Regions from separate parts of the Homo sapiens genome. Here region 1 is linked to region 2. The links are contacts of gene promoters, found by promoter capture Hi-C in human tissues and cell types (Jung and others, 2019). All regions are on one chromosome and are shown on one strand. The core of a region is centred on a gene start or on the middle of the fragment in contact, and the rest is flanking DNA. Distances in the headings are between cores, read along the strand shown. Region 1 overlaps GXYLT2 (glucoside xylosyltransferase 2). Region 2 holds the start of GPR27 (G protein-coupled receptor 27).

Region 1 (6,917 bases), core at 2,765-5,264, 1.2 Mb before region 2:
GGTGACGGAGGACTGGCTATGGGCGGCCGGCCGGGATGGGGGACGAACGCCGGGTTCCGTCCAAGCACTGTTGAAGCAGGAAACCCCGACGACTCCCGGCGAGGAACGTCTGGCAAAGTGAATATTTTCTAATAGAGCATTTTAATTTATTTTTTTATGGGGTTTTTTTTTGGAGTTATTTCCTCAGTGGAGCACAAATTGCCCCCACAGTCTGATCCAATTAAATTAAGGACCATTTGAATTTTTGAGGCTAGTCTGTGATATCTGTTATGACTCCAGGAGGGCACGTTTTACCTGCATTGTCCTCTGGCTCTCCCTTGTAAACTAACTGGCCTATGGTTTAGCTTGCTGTTCTCATTAAGGTGCAAGCCTCCTCTTAATTAAGAAACACCCTGGCTTCTAGGCCACACCTCCATGGAATTTAGGCTCTGCAACACATAGCTAGCTAGTAGCAATAAGAAATGCTGATGGCCTGTGCCTCCCAAGGAGATACCATGTTCCTCAACTGGGAGCTGGAGAGAGAGGAATCCCTGTGTTCTTGAATGAACTTCAGGTAGAAGGTGAATTTTTATCACACTGAACTGGAAGGGGGAAGGAGGGAGGCTGTGGTTCAAATGTCACCGATTCTCACTCTTCTTACCAAGTTTTAGTAGATTTTCTTGAATAAATGTTCCTTCATTTGCCTAGGTCCTTAGGACAATTTCCAAAGTATTTAGATAGTTATTTTAAAAATTATTTTCACAAGTTATGCTTGTTTCACTGGGGAGCAATTCCACAGGGCTCCTAATGTCACCATTTTGGAAGTTGCTACCTTGCCATGCTCTTTTTCTGCCGTAGCTGCTAAGCTGCTAGAATTTGGATTTCAGGCTGCTTTGAGCAATCATTATGCTTATGGAGTAGCCTTGCAAGGGACTGAAAGAGAGAGACAGAGTCCTGATGACATTATGTTAGCCTCTGGATCTAGCTGTGCTTGGAATCAGCCCTACAGTGTGGACTTTGCAGTTAGATAAGCCAATAAATTAATTTCCTTCTTTGCTAGTTGGAGTTGAGTTTCTCTCACATATAACCAAGAGTTGTAGCTAATATCCTGAATGTCAAACTTTTAATAGTGTATGAGTAAATGATAAGTACTGTGGAAAGCTTGTTCAACAAAATTGGTATCTAAGGTCATTTCATGTAATCATTTAGGTGGCTAATCTCATCCAAATAATTTATGGCCTCTTGGTGCTTGATGAAATGTATAAACATCATTTATGGTGATTCTAATTGGTGTTCCCCTTAATAAGGATTTTTAATATATTCCTATATGTGTGTCAATATTTGTTAATATCCAAAGGGTTTGTTGCAAGGATGTCTCAATGTTAATTGCAAATACTGAGGTGTAATATTAATAATAATATAGAGGTCTGACCTTAATTATAAAAAGTTCTAAAAAGTATGATAAGCTTCCTTTTTCCATTAGCCTACAGCTAACTCATGAAGACATCATTGGTAAGCATGCAGATTTCAAAACATTAGAACCAGTTACCGGTCTCTTTAACAAGCCGTAAGTAGAAAAGAGAAGATTATACATTGTTGCTTTCACTACATAAAATAAAGATTTATCTTTATTTGGCATGGTAGTCCTTTGAAATATTAAGGAGTGGGACAAGTTTCTTGGAAATATGGAGTCAGAAAACTTTCAGAATACATTTACAGGTTAAAGCTATAACTAATTTGGCCAGGTGCGGTGGCTCACACCTGTAATCCCAGCACTTTAGGAGGCCTAGGAAGGAGGATCACTTGAGCCCAGGAGTTTGAGACCAGCCTGGGCAACATGGTGAGACTCTTGTCTCTACAAAAATTTTAAAAATTAGCTGGGCATGGTGGTGTGTACCTGTGGTCCCAGCTACTCAGGAGGCTTAGGTGGGAGGATCACTTGAGCCCAGGAGGTTGACGCTGCAGTGATCCATGATTGCACCACTGCACTCTAGCCTGGGCAACACAGTGAGACCCTCTCTAACTCCTTCCTTAAATATGGCTATCTATGGTGAATGTTGGGAGCAAAAAAGACATCAGACATTATCATAACCTTGGAGCTTATTAAAACTTGGTAAAAACAAAACCAAAAACATTTATCCCTGGATACAACCTTACCCTACCTCAAATTACCATATTGGGTACCACTCACTAATAATGTCTCTAAAGGTTCTGCAATCCAGTGATGTCTGTCATGTTTTACCTATCTCTAGGATTCCCAGAAGACCACAGTTATTGAGGAGAGAAATCTTCATAATTTCTCTCCTCACAGCGTGTAGCAAAATGTACAGATCTATTATAAAATCTCACTACTTCCAATTAATTGGGGGAAAGGTGATGTGAATTCATACAACTCAATTACTCTTACAGATGTAAAGGATTTCTGGCCTGTACTAAGAAAATAAAAGTATTCCAGAATCAATTTTAATGAACACATTTGATTTATTTGTAATTGGCATATTGTTTTAAATATTTTAAGCTTCTGAATTACCTGAAATATGCATTTTAGAACGCTTAACCAAGCCATCTGCAGTTTAGTTTGCATTCATAATGATCCCATGTCATAGGACCATTAGTCACAGAAGTAGAGGAGTAAATGTCCACTGATTTGTAGGAGTTCATAAATTTTGAATTGGTGGGATCTGAATCACACTAATTGTACCTGAGAATCTAATTGGCTTGAGTTGCAAAGACTTATGCTCTGATATTATTCAGATAGTAAAATCTTAGTTGAGAAAGGGTCTCTTCCACAGTTTTGGGTAGATGACAGCCTCTTGGAAAATGGGTGGGACCATGGTCCTCAGTCAACTGACTACCTGATAGAATGTTTGCACTTTAGGATCTCCATTTTCTCTGTGCTCCTGAGGCAGCACACCTGATATGGTTTTAAAGAGATGAATTCCAAGGAAAACACAACCTAGACTTTAAAATTACCCTCAAGATCAATACATCTCACTGATGCCCAAAAATGCCATGTTCATAATCTGCTGTTGTGATATACAACTAGGAAAAGGTAAATGTCCTGTCAACCACAATCTCTCTTTATTATTTTTAAAGAGGGCTCGTTTCCATTATCAGAAGCAGATAAGGAATGCCAGCACCCATTTGTCATTCAAAACCAAGCACCTACTTAGCTGGGAAAGAATTAAGGCCATTAGGTGATGAATTTGTTTTTTTTTAAATAATGGTAATAAAGTCACAATTCAAGGTCAACAAAAATTCAAATGTAGTTCCATTGGGTAGCTAATATTTTGGATAGAATGGGAAGACCATTTCCCAACATTACCTTTGGTTTTCTAATACTTATTTTTTGCAAAAATGGAGACAAGCAACAAACCTAACATTTTCTCTCACCTCAAAGAGTAATCAGTTTTTATATCACCAACCTAGAGATTTTCGTGTCAATTGGAGGGAGTCTTTTCCTACCCCAGTTTTTATGCGATTATATATAAAGGTCTGTGACATGTGAAGAACAGACGATGTGGCCAGGCGCAGTGGCTCATGCCTGTAATCTCAGCACTTTGGGAGGCCGAGGCGGGCGGATCACCTGAAGTCAGGAGTTCAAGATCAGCCTGACCAACATGGTGAAACCCTGTCTCTACTAAAAATACAAAAATTAGCGGGGCATGGTGGTATGCGCCAAAATCCCAGCTACTTGGGGGATTGAGGCAGGAGAATTGTTTGAACCCAGGAGGTGGAGGTTGCAGTGAGCTGAGATTGTGCCACTGCACTCCAGCCTGGGCGACAGAGTGAGACTCTGTCTCAAAAAAAAAAAAAAGAAAGAAAAAGAAAAATAGATGACATAATGAGCAAGTGAGCTTGGGCAGCTGATCGCTGCCAACAATTCATCCAGGGTTTATTCTGCTCACAGGTCTCTGCGTAGGAAATGCCAAAAGGGCTACTCCCCAGTTAGTGTTTCCAGACCGATAGATGTGACGATTCCTTCTGCTTGAGTATCCTCAGCCACCTCAAAATCAAAGTATGACCCAAATTAAACTCATTTGACCCCTTTACCAAAACTGCTTTTCCCTGTCTTTTCTATCCCTAAATGATTCTGCCATTTATTTCTTACGTTGAGCCATAAGAAATTACCTTTTTGTAGGTCATTAATGGTTGAATACTGGCAATTTCAAATGGATCAACCTTAACAGTTGTTCAGGTTAAAAAAAAAATCTGGTAAAATCCTTTTCATGTCACTCCCCCTTCAACTCTTACAACGAGCCAATCATGAAGGTTGGTAAATTCCGTTTCAGGCAGGTCCATTATCCATCTCTAAGGCAACCATCAAAGCCCAAACCAAGTTAGTGACCTGGCTTCACCAACCCTGTCTGCGCTGCCATAAACCAGAGTGTCTTCTCTAAAACACAAGTTAGAACATGCCACTTGCTGCAAAAAATCATCCAGTGGCTTCCCACTGCCCTTAAGAAAAAGACTGGGCTGAGTGCTGTGGCTCTCATCTGCAATTCCAGCACTGTGGGAGGTCAAGGTGGGAGGACCGCTTGAGCCCAGGAGTATGTGAGGAGTATGTGACCAGGCTGGCAACATAGCAAGACATCATCTCTACAAAAAATAAAAAAATTAGCTAAGCATGGTGGCTCACACCTGTAGTCCCAGCTACTTGTGAGGCTCGGGTGGGAGGATCACTTAAGCCCAGGAGTTGGAGGCTGCAGTAAGCCATGACTGCACCACTGCACTCCAGCAGGGGCGACAGAGAGTGACCTTATCTCTTAAAAAAAAAAAAAAAAAGACAAAGACCAGACACTTCTAGATGGCTTGCTGAGCCTGCAAGCTCCAGTCTCTGCTGATTGCTTCATTCTCATCTCACTTTCTATTTTTTGGTTACTATGACCTTCTTTTATTTTCTTAAACATGGCCCTTCCCACCTTAGGGCCTTTGTATATACTGTTCCATCTGCCTGGACCCCTCTTTTCTCTCATTACCCCCAAGGCCCTTGTCACCTAGTAACCCTTACTTCTCCTTCATTCATGTCTGCATAAATGCCACTGCTGGACAGGCATGGTGGCTCATGCCTGTAATCCTACTACTTTGGGAGGCCAAGGCGAGAGGATCACTTAAGCACAGGAGTTCAAGATCAGCCTGAGCAATATAGCGAGACCCCATCTCCACAAAAAAATATGCCACTGCCTCAGGAGAACCTTCTATGATCTCTCTCAGACCAGGATGGAACCCCATGTTACATACATCCATGAGATTATCTCCTCTTAGTACTGGTCATACTTCTAATTATTTGTTCAAGGCCCTACTAGACTCAAGCTTCAAGGAAACAGGACCATGGCTGTCTTATTACCATGTCATCATCACTGAGCCAGGGCCCAGCACCCTGGTGGGCACTCAACAAATGTCTACTGAAGGCATGAATCCCTCACAAAAATTAAGGCAGCAACTGACAATTCAAAGTTGCTATCCCTGTGCAATATTATTCTCACTTTTGAAATATCTTTTTCTATTGAATATTTTTATTATTATTTGATTTTTAAAATTTTATTTCTTTATTTACTTTTTTGAGACACGGTCTCAGTCTGTCAGGTAGGCTGGAGTGTGATGGTGCGATCATGGCTCACTGCAGCCTCAACCTCTTGAGCTCAGATGATCCTCCCACCTCAGCCTCCCAAGTAGCTGGGACTACAGGCATGCGCCACCATGCCCAGGTAATTTTTTTTTTGAGATGTAGTTTAGCTCTTGTTGCCCAGGCTGGAGTGCAGTGGCGTGATCTTGGCTCACTGCAAGCTCTGCCTCCTGGGTTCAAGCGATTTTCTTGCCTCAGCCTCCTGAGTAGCTGGGATTACAGACATACACCACCAAGCCTGGCTAATTTTTGTATTTTTAGTAGAGACAGGGTTTCACCATGTTGGCCAGGCTGGTCTTGAACTCCTAACCTCAGGTGACTCACTCGCCTCAGCCTCCCAAAGTGCTGGGATTATAGGTCTAAGCCAACACACCCCGCCTAATTTTTGTATTTTTTGTAGAGATGGGATTTCACCCTGTTGCCCAGGCTGGTCTCAAACTCCTGTGCTCAAGTGATCCGCCTGCCTTGGCCTCCCCAAGTACTGGGATTATAGGTGTGAGCCGCCATGCCGGCCTCAAGATTTTAAAAAAGCAACCAAAAACATGCAATTTAAAAATTCATTAAACTAAAAGACTAAACCAAAATTCTGGACCCTTTTGGAATGATAGCCTAGTATGGCCATAACTAGTAGTTGTTATTGTGATAAGAGAAATAACAATAATCCAGGCTAATATTTATTGAGGGCCAGCTATGTGCCAAGCCTATGGATAAAACTGAAGTTAGTAAAGTTGGGGGATTTAACGAGGTTCACAGGAGCCAGTAAATAATGGAACCATAGTCACAAAGACCAATGATCCAAGACAGGATTTGAATGCTCACAGTCCCTCAGTCTTTCGGTATGACAACCTCCAGAACACAGGGATCCTCTCTACATGCTGCAGACTTAGAGCATCAGCTCCAGAATCCAAGAGACACAGGTTTTCAGCTGTTAAGTTAAATGTTTCTACACACATCTCAGCTAATTTTACCTTATTTCCAGGAGCAAGCTACAACTTATTAAAAACAGGTGTTCCTACCGGAAGAAAGAGTCTCTGGGCAGCACAGGGTTTGAACAATTTCTTCCACTCCTGAGGGTTTCCAACAGAAAATGTGATGGGGTAGATTCTGTGCTCAAACTTCTTTGTATATGAGTCAGGCCACTGGCGTAACTGAAAAACATGGGAAGCAAGGGAAGGGTGATTAGGCCCTAGGAAATATGGAAAATGCCTGCGAAGCTTCTGGATGGTCAAATGGAAATTATTCAGGCAACTTACACAGAAAGTCTAACTTCATCACCACTATGAATGTTCACTAAATGAAAGAGTATTTGCTC
Region 2 (6,886 bases), core at 546-3,045:
ACAGAAGATCCTCAAGAAATCTAACTTGTGAAGAAGTCCCCCTAGGTTCCTCTACTTCACTGCAAAATGTAATGCCACTTGAGGTTGTCAAAAATAGCTTCTGTAGAAAACTGGCCATGGTCTTTAGGAAACGTTGCATGAAGAAAATTAGTACAGCCTTTATAGAAAAAGAAAAAAAGGAACCACACATGGAATAAAAGACGTCAGTACCGCTACAAAAAGACTGCAGGGCCTATTGTCAGGAAGAAAGTCGAGTTAGGAGGACGAATGTGCGGAGCTGGAGTGGGCTGAGCATCCTACTCCTCACCCACCCCACCCCCAAAGGAGTCAGTACAATCCAAGTGTCTGTCCACTTCGAGTCATTTTGAAGGCAGCTTAGAAAATTAAACAGGGGCCAGAAGGAAAAGATACAACGTCACCGTCCGAGCCAAAGGGAAAGGCTGGGTTGGGGGTCTATGTGGCGGGGCCTCCCTCATAAACCAATGCCTTTCAGGTCGCAGGGATGGGTCGCCTGGGTGGTCCGGGGGCTCTGGCAGCAGGGGAACTGGGCCCTGAAGCAGTCCCTCAGCTCCCTGTTGAAGAGGAAGCACACGACGGGGTTGATGCCGGCCTGCGCGAAGGTCAGCCACACGGAGGCCGTCAGGTAGGCCTGGGGGACGGCGCCGGGCCGCACCAGGACCCGCAGGTAGCTGGCCACGACGTAGGGCCCCCAGAGGAGCAGGAAGAGCAGCGTGACGGCGTAGAACATCTTGCACAGCCTCTTCTCCGTCTTGAATTCTTCCAGCACGAGGAGGCGGCGCGCGCCGCGGCCCGGCCCTGCGGGCCGGATGCCCACAAGCGCGGGCGGCGTGGGCCCGCGGCCGAAGCCCGCCGTCCAGTTGGCGGCCGCCTGGCCGGTGGCGCCCGGGCCGTGGAAGGTCCAGTCGTGGCTGACGGCGGGCACCAGGCGCGCGGGCCGCATCTTGCGGCGGTCGTGGATGAAGAAGAGCAGGCGGAGGTAGACGAGGTGCGTGGCGCCCACCACCACGGCCAGCAGCAGCAGGAAGCCCAGCGCGCCGGGGGCGCCGTCGGGCCGCTGCTCCAGGGCGCACGGCGCGTCCTCGTCGTCGCCACCGCCGTCCAGCACTGGCGGGAAGGCCGCGGCCAGCGCCAGCGCCCAGGCGGCGCACACCAGCATGGCGGCGCACGGCCAGCCGGCCAGGCGCTCTGCATAGAAGCGGTGGTGCGCGATGGCCAGGTAGCGGGTGACGCCCACGCCCAGCAGCAGGAAGGCGGCGTGGAAGCAGAAGAGCGCGGCCAGGAAGGCGAGCAGCTTGCAGCCCAGCGCGCCCGGCGGCGCCCCCGCCGCGGCCGCCGCACGCCGCGCCGCCAGCATGACGGCCGGGAGGCAGGCGAGCGCGCGCAGCCCGTCGGCCAGGCACAGGTCGAGCAGCAGGTAGTACGGGGCGCGGTGCAGGCTGCGCTCCCGCACGATCAGCAGCGCGAACAGCACGTTGCCCGCTAGGCTCACGCACAGCAGCAGGCTGAGCGTGGCCAGCTTGAGGCCCAGGGCGGCCGCCTCGCCGCCGCCGCTGCCACCCGGCTCGCTCGCGTTCGCCATCGCGGCCTCACCAGGCCGTGCGCTCCGCCCCGGGGCCGTCCCCTGCCTCGCCGCTCCCGCAGGCCGCCCGGCCCGAGCTCCGCCGCTCCGCCGGCCCTGGGCGAGCTCCCCGTCCTGCGGGGCTCAGCCCGCTCCCGGCCGGCCCCTCCTGGGCTCCCCGAGCCGCCGCTGTGCCGCCGCCGCCATCTCAGGAATGGTGCGCGCAGGAGGAGGCGGCCACTCCCTGCGCCCTAGGCGCCGCGGGCTTCACTGCGGACAGGGCCTCGCCACCGTCCGCAGCCCCCCGCATCCTCCTCCGTCTCCTCCTACTCCTCCGCTGCTGCCGCCGCGCCTCTTGGCTCTGCCCCCCGCCGGGCCCGCCGCCGCCGCTGCCGCCGCTGCCGCCGCCGCCGCCGCCGCCGCGGAGCCCCCTCCCCTCCGCCGGAGCGCGCAGCGCGGCCGCCGCCGCCAGCCCCGCCGAGGCATCCCGCACCGCCTGGGCCCGGCTGGGCTGGGGGCGCCTCCGCAGCAGCCGCGGGGTCGGGAGGCGGCCGGGAGGGAGGCAGGGCCCAGGACGCAAGGTGGCGACAAGTCGCGTTTGGCCCCAGGTAACGGGGGTCCGGCGGCGGCGCCCGCGCTGGGGTCACGGTGGCCGTGCGCGGGGGAGGTTGCCTGGGCTGGCAGGGTCGGGAGGCCTCAGAGGGGACAGGAATATCTGGAATGAGCCTTCTGCCCGAAAGCTGGGAGTAATTTACGATAGTAATAGTCATCGTAATCCTAAAACCGCTGATACTCAGGTGCGCACTGATGTGGGTGGCAGTGTGCTGGGGAGCTTGGCAAGCATTATCTCCCTCAACAGTAATCACGAAGTTGTTGCCATCCTTAATCCCACTTTATACCTCAGGAAGCAGAGGCTTGGAGGTCAAGGGAGTTGAGAGCCGGGAAGTAGCGGAGCTGGGATTCAAATTTCGCTTGGTCTGATTTCCAGTGCTGGACTCACAGCGACTCCGCAGCATCCCCTGCTCGCTAACTCATCCGTGATCCCGGTGAAGGACCTATATCAGGGAAAAGAAATGCAGCATTTCATCTTTAAGTGACTTGGAAGGTGAACCCTATGCCACCTTCCTCCCAGGATATCTATTTTCTGGGTAAGCCTGAAAGGGCAGCCCCTGTTATGATTCTCAGACACACCGCATTTGTCTCGCAGGACCTTGCATGTGCTGGTACCTCTGCCTGGACCAGCCCCACAACAGGCTCCCTCTCCGTAGGGCCTCCTTCTAACCCGTCTGTTTTACTCTGTATCCCTGCCCTCTAGTCATTTCCTTCTTAGCACTTATAATTTGTCATTATATACTTTCATTTCTTTTTAAAAATCATGCTCTTCTAACTAGGCTCTAAGCTCTTTGAAGGCAAGGGATCATGCCTGGTTTTTGGTACCACTGCATCCCCAGTGCTTAGCATGGTAAAGCCAGAATTAAGCAACGCATTGTTTCTCACCCACACTCATTTGTTTTTTCTTCTGTGCAGAAAATTATTTGTTGCCTACTGATTACATGCAAGGCAGGCACCTTGATGGGCATTTTCAGGATAGTGCAAGATCATAGAGGGCCTTAATGATCAGGCTAAGAAGTCGAAACTTTAGTCTGCAGGCAGTCAGGAGCCCTTGAAATCTTTTGAGAAGGGGAGCGACATGACTAGGTGTGCTCCAGGAACATTATTCTGGCAGCAGTGTTGAGGAGGGATGACAGAGCAGAGCCGGTAAACCTAGTCCAGAGCCTCAAACTTCACTATGTGCAGAAATCACTGGGGACCCTGTTAAAATGAAGATTCTGATTTAGTAGTTCTGGAATGGGGCCGGAGGTTCTGCATTTCTAACAAGCTCCGGGGTGAGACTAATGCTGTTGGTCTGCTGACCTTACTTTGAATAGTAAGGCCCTTGGGGACAGTTTGGATATTTTTTTAAAAATCTAAGTGATTTTTCAAGAAAATCAACTATTGAGCACCTGACTTGGGACTCCTAAGTGGCCAGCAGCAAGTGGCTGACCAGGCACATCTGTAAATGTATGTTGATAGAAAATAGATTTTGGAGGGTGTATGGGTTAGGAATTGCAGTTTGATACTAGTAGCAAAAAACGTGTACATGAGTTTATTTTCCTCGTGAAAGAAGAAGTTTGGAGGTCAGTAGTTGCTGACATTGATTTATTGGCTCAAGGACTGAATCTCTGAAAATCTTTTAGCCCTTCCCTCATGATCACAGTAGGCTGCCGACGCCCCAGCCATCATTTCTTCATTCCAGGCAGAAAGAAGAAAAGGGAAAAGAGCAGCAATATTCCAGCCATCTAAGTAGGAAGAGCTTTCTAGAAGCCCTACATTATAAACAAACACTTAAACATATCATTGGCTATCAATTGAGAGTGAGCACTTGAGCAAGGGAGGGTAGGAAATGGTTTCTTATTTCTTTGTTTAAAGTTAGACCCATGGCTGTAGAGAATTCGATCCTGCCTTGCTGTGGCCCTTAGCGCTTGGGCTGCCTCTGCCCAGAGGAGGGAATGCCTTCTTAATAACCCACACAAATTCACCAACTCTGGTTGCTTTATGGTAATACTAATGGCAGCCACCTTTTACTGAGCACTTGCCGTATGCCAAGCATTGTGCTAAATTCTCGACATGTGTTATTTAATGTAATCATTGTAATGGCCAGATGTGGTATGTGCTGTTACTGTCTTCATTTTGCAGAGGAGGCAGAAGGGTTAATTTGTTCACGCTTTCACCACTTACACTTACTTTACACTTACTTTCAAGTAAGTGTAAGAGCTGGAAGTCTGACTTTATTTATTTTGAAACAGGGTCTCACTCTGTCACCTAGGCTGGAGTCAGTGGCATCATCATGGCTCACTGCAGCCTCAACCTCCCAGGCTCAGGCCGTCCTCCTATCTCAGCCTCCTGAGTAGCTGGGACCACAGGCTTATACCACCATGCCCCGCTAATTTTTAAAAAATTATTTGTAGAGGCCGGATGCGGTGGCTCACACCTGTAATCCCAGCACTTTGGGAGGCCGAGGCGGGTGGATCATGAGGTCAGGAGATCGAGACTATCCTGGCTAACACGGTGAAACCCCGTCTCTATTAAAATGCAAAAAATTAGCTGGGCATGGTGGCAGGCGCCTGTAGTCCCAGCTACTCAGGAGGCTGAGGCAGGAGAATGGCATGAACCCGGGAGGCGGAGCTTGCAGTGAGCCGAAATCGTGTCACTGCACTTCAGCCTGGGCAACAGAGCGAGACTCCGTCTCAAAAAAAAAAAAAAACCAATTATTTGTAGAGATGGGGTCTCCCTATGTTTCCCAGGCTGGTCTAGAACTCCTGGGCTCAAGTGATCCTCCCACCTCAGCCTCCCAAAGTGCTGGGATTACAGGCGTGAGCCACCACACCCAGCTGAGGAACTCTGTGTTTAGAGTCCATCCTCATGATCTCCACAAACACTGCCTCTTTGTTATAACTGTGAAGAAAGCTTTTGAGTTTATAAAAGCAGTAAACTAACATACACAAACTACTGATGCTCCCGGGCACAGAATTATAACCCCTTTCGAGAGGGAAGGATTTTTCAAAACCATCTAATCCTAACACTTGAATTTTACAAACAGAGAAGCTCATGAATAGCTGAGTGGGAGGGAGAACCCAGGTCCTCCCACTCCTAGGTCACTACCTTCCACTTTAAATCTTCATATTTTTTATTCTAATGAGCACATGGTGTTCGACAAGTCACTTAACCTCTTGGAATCTCAAATGTGTCCATTTATGAAATGGGACGTTGGACCAAATGATTTCTGAGGGTCCTGGGCTCTGAAGTTGAGTTTAGGTATAAGGAAATGGAAGTTAAGTGATTATGTCTCCCAAATGGGGAGAGATTTATTTTTCAGAAAAGGACACAAAAGAAGAGACATTATTAATTCCTTATAACTTAAAATTTTCTGTTTTCTGTTTCTATCTACGGTGCAAAATGCTGCTCTTGAGATTTGGTTTAGTCATTTTCCCAGGCTCAAATAGCAGAAGCAGCAGTAGAAAATACATAAATCATGGTTCTCTCACAGCATTTATATGCCTACTTCTTTCATTATCAACATTTGTTCAGTAGATTAATACTTAAGGAAAAACTGTTCACATTTCATTGGCCAGGATCAACGTATTTTCCTTTTACTGTTTCTAGGAAGCTGCAGGCAAGAATTTTAAATGCTTTCTTAGGCACCAAATTGCATGCCTTCATCTCAAAGCAAAACAGCTCTATGACATTTTTTTCCTATAAGAAAATTTCCATTATTCTTGTATAATCAAATTATTCCTTTTGGACATAGAAACAAAAGTATTTCCCACCCCCACTCCCCAAATCATTTATGTCACTTCTTTGATGTACGTATAGATGGTGTGAATGGTACTAGAAATCCTGACTGTTCAGAGGAACTGGTTGGCACCCTTTGGCAGATACAGTCAAGGTCATGGGTTCCCTAATCATGAGGTCCAGTCTGGCCAGTGTATCCTGTTTAACCTCAGGCTTCTGGCCAGTCACCTGCCAATAGGTACATTAAACACCAAGTTAGAGAAGGTTGGTTTGACTTAACTCCATCCCAACTCTTAGAAAAAGTGAGCCAAAGTCTAGGCCCAGTGGATGTTGGATTATCAAAGGGCAGCACTCAAGTTGACCTCCCCATGGGACGAAGTCATAACTTTGACAATGAAAGTGGGCCTTGCGGTGAGGACCACTCTGGTTCATGTCCAGTTTCCACCACTGACTAGCTGTGCATTAGTGGTAGTTGTACATGAACCAGATTGTACCTAACTGTAAAGAGCCCAGACTTTGGCTCATTGGGCAAGTCTCTTGCCTGCTCTGAACGTCTGAATATCAAAAGCCCATTGTGGGAAGATTCAATTAAATGAGATTCATTTACAAAGAGTGTAGCACAAGGTGTGCACACAAGTCGTGTGCAATAAATGGTTAACTACACTTATGCATATTTGCTCTTACCTGACTATATAAATGTCTTGGCTAACCATGATTTAATTGACTTTTGTATTTCCCACCTCAGCTTAACCTAGCAGGATGCCCTGTACACAGTAGGTTCTCAATATGTATGTGGCAAGTATGAGTGTCAGTCTATATAATCAAGAGTGCAAGAAGTGCAGCTGCTTCCTAGAAACCTAATTTCTGACTCTGTGTTGCCATTTTGTCTTGCTGGTGGGGAAAAAAAGAGGTAGCCTTAGTGCATCTTGGGTTTCATCATGGGTCCTTGCTTTCTCAGAATATACTGTAATTTCA

The links. The method cuts DNA at HindIII sites, captures the fragments that hold promoters and counts their contacts. A contact is called where the count stands out against the background at its distance.
Region 1: a contact is called between a fragment that was not itself captured here and the fragment with the promoter of GPR27 in region 2, in 1 of the 25 tissues and cell types used here (dorsolateral prefrontal cortex).

The regions. Positions count from the first base shown.
Region 1 is chr3:72,922,040-72,928,956 of GRCh38, reverse strand. GXYLT2 (glucoside xylosyltransferase 2) reads right to left here. Exons shown (of 7, transcript NM_001080393.2): 3 at 6,622-6,753. It also overlaps the pseudogene FTH1P23. Among named protein-coding and RNA genes, the nearest start is that of GXYLT2, 37 kb to the right of the region's middle. The HindIII fragment of the contact is 4,085 bases long and covers 1,972-6,056 here.
Region 2 is chr3:71,748,764-71,755,649 of GRCh38, reverse strand. GPR27 (G protein-coupled receptor 27) reads right to left here and starts at 1,795. Exons shown (of 1, transcript NM_018971.3): 1 at 1-1,795. The coding sequence starts at 1,600. The coding sequence ends at 473. It also overlaps a transcript of EIF4E3 not described here. The HindIII fragment of the contact is 10,298 bases long and covers 1-6,886 here.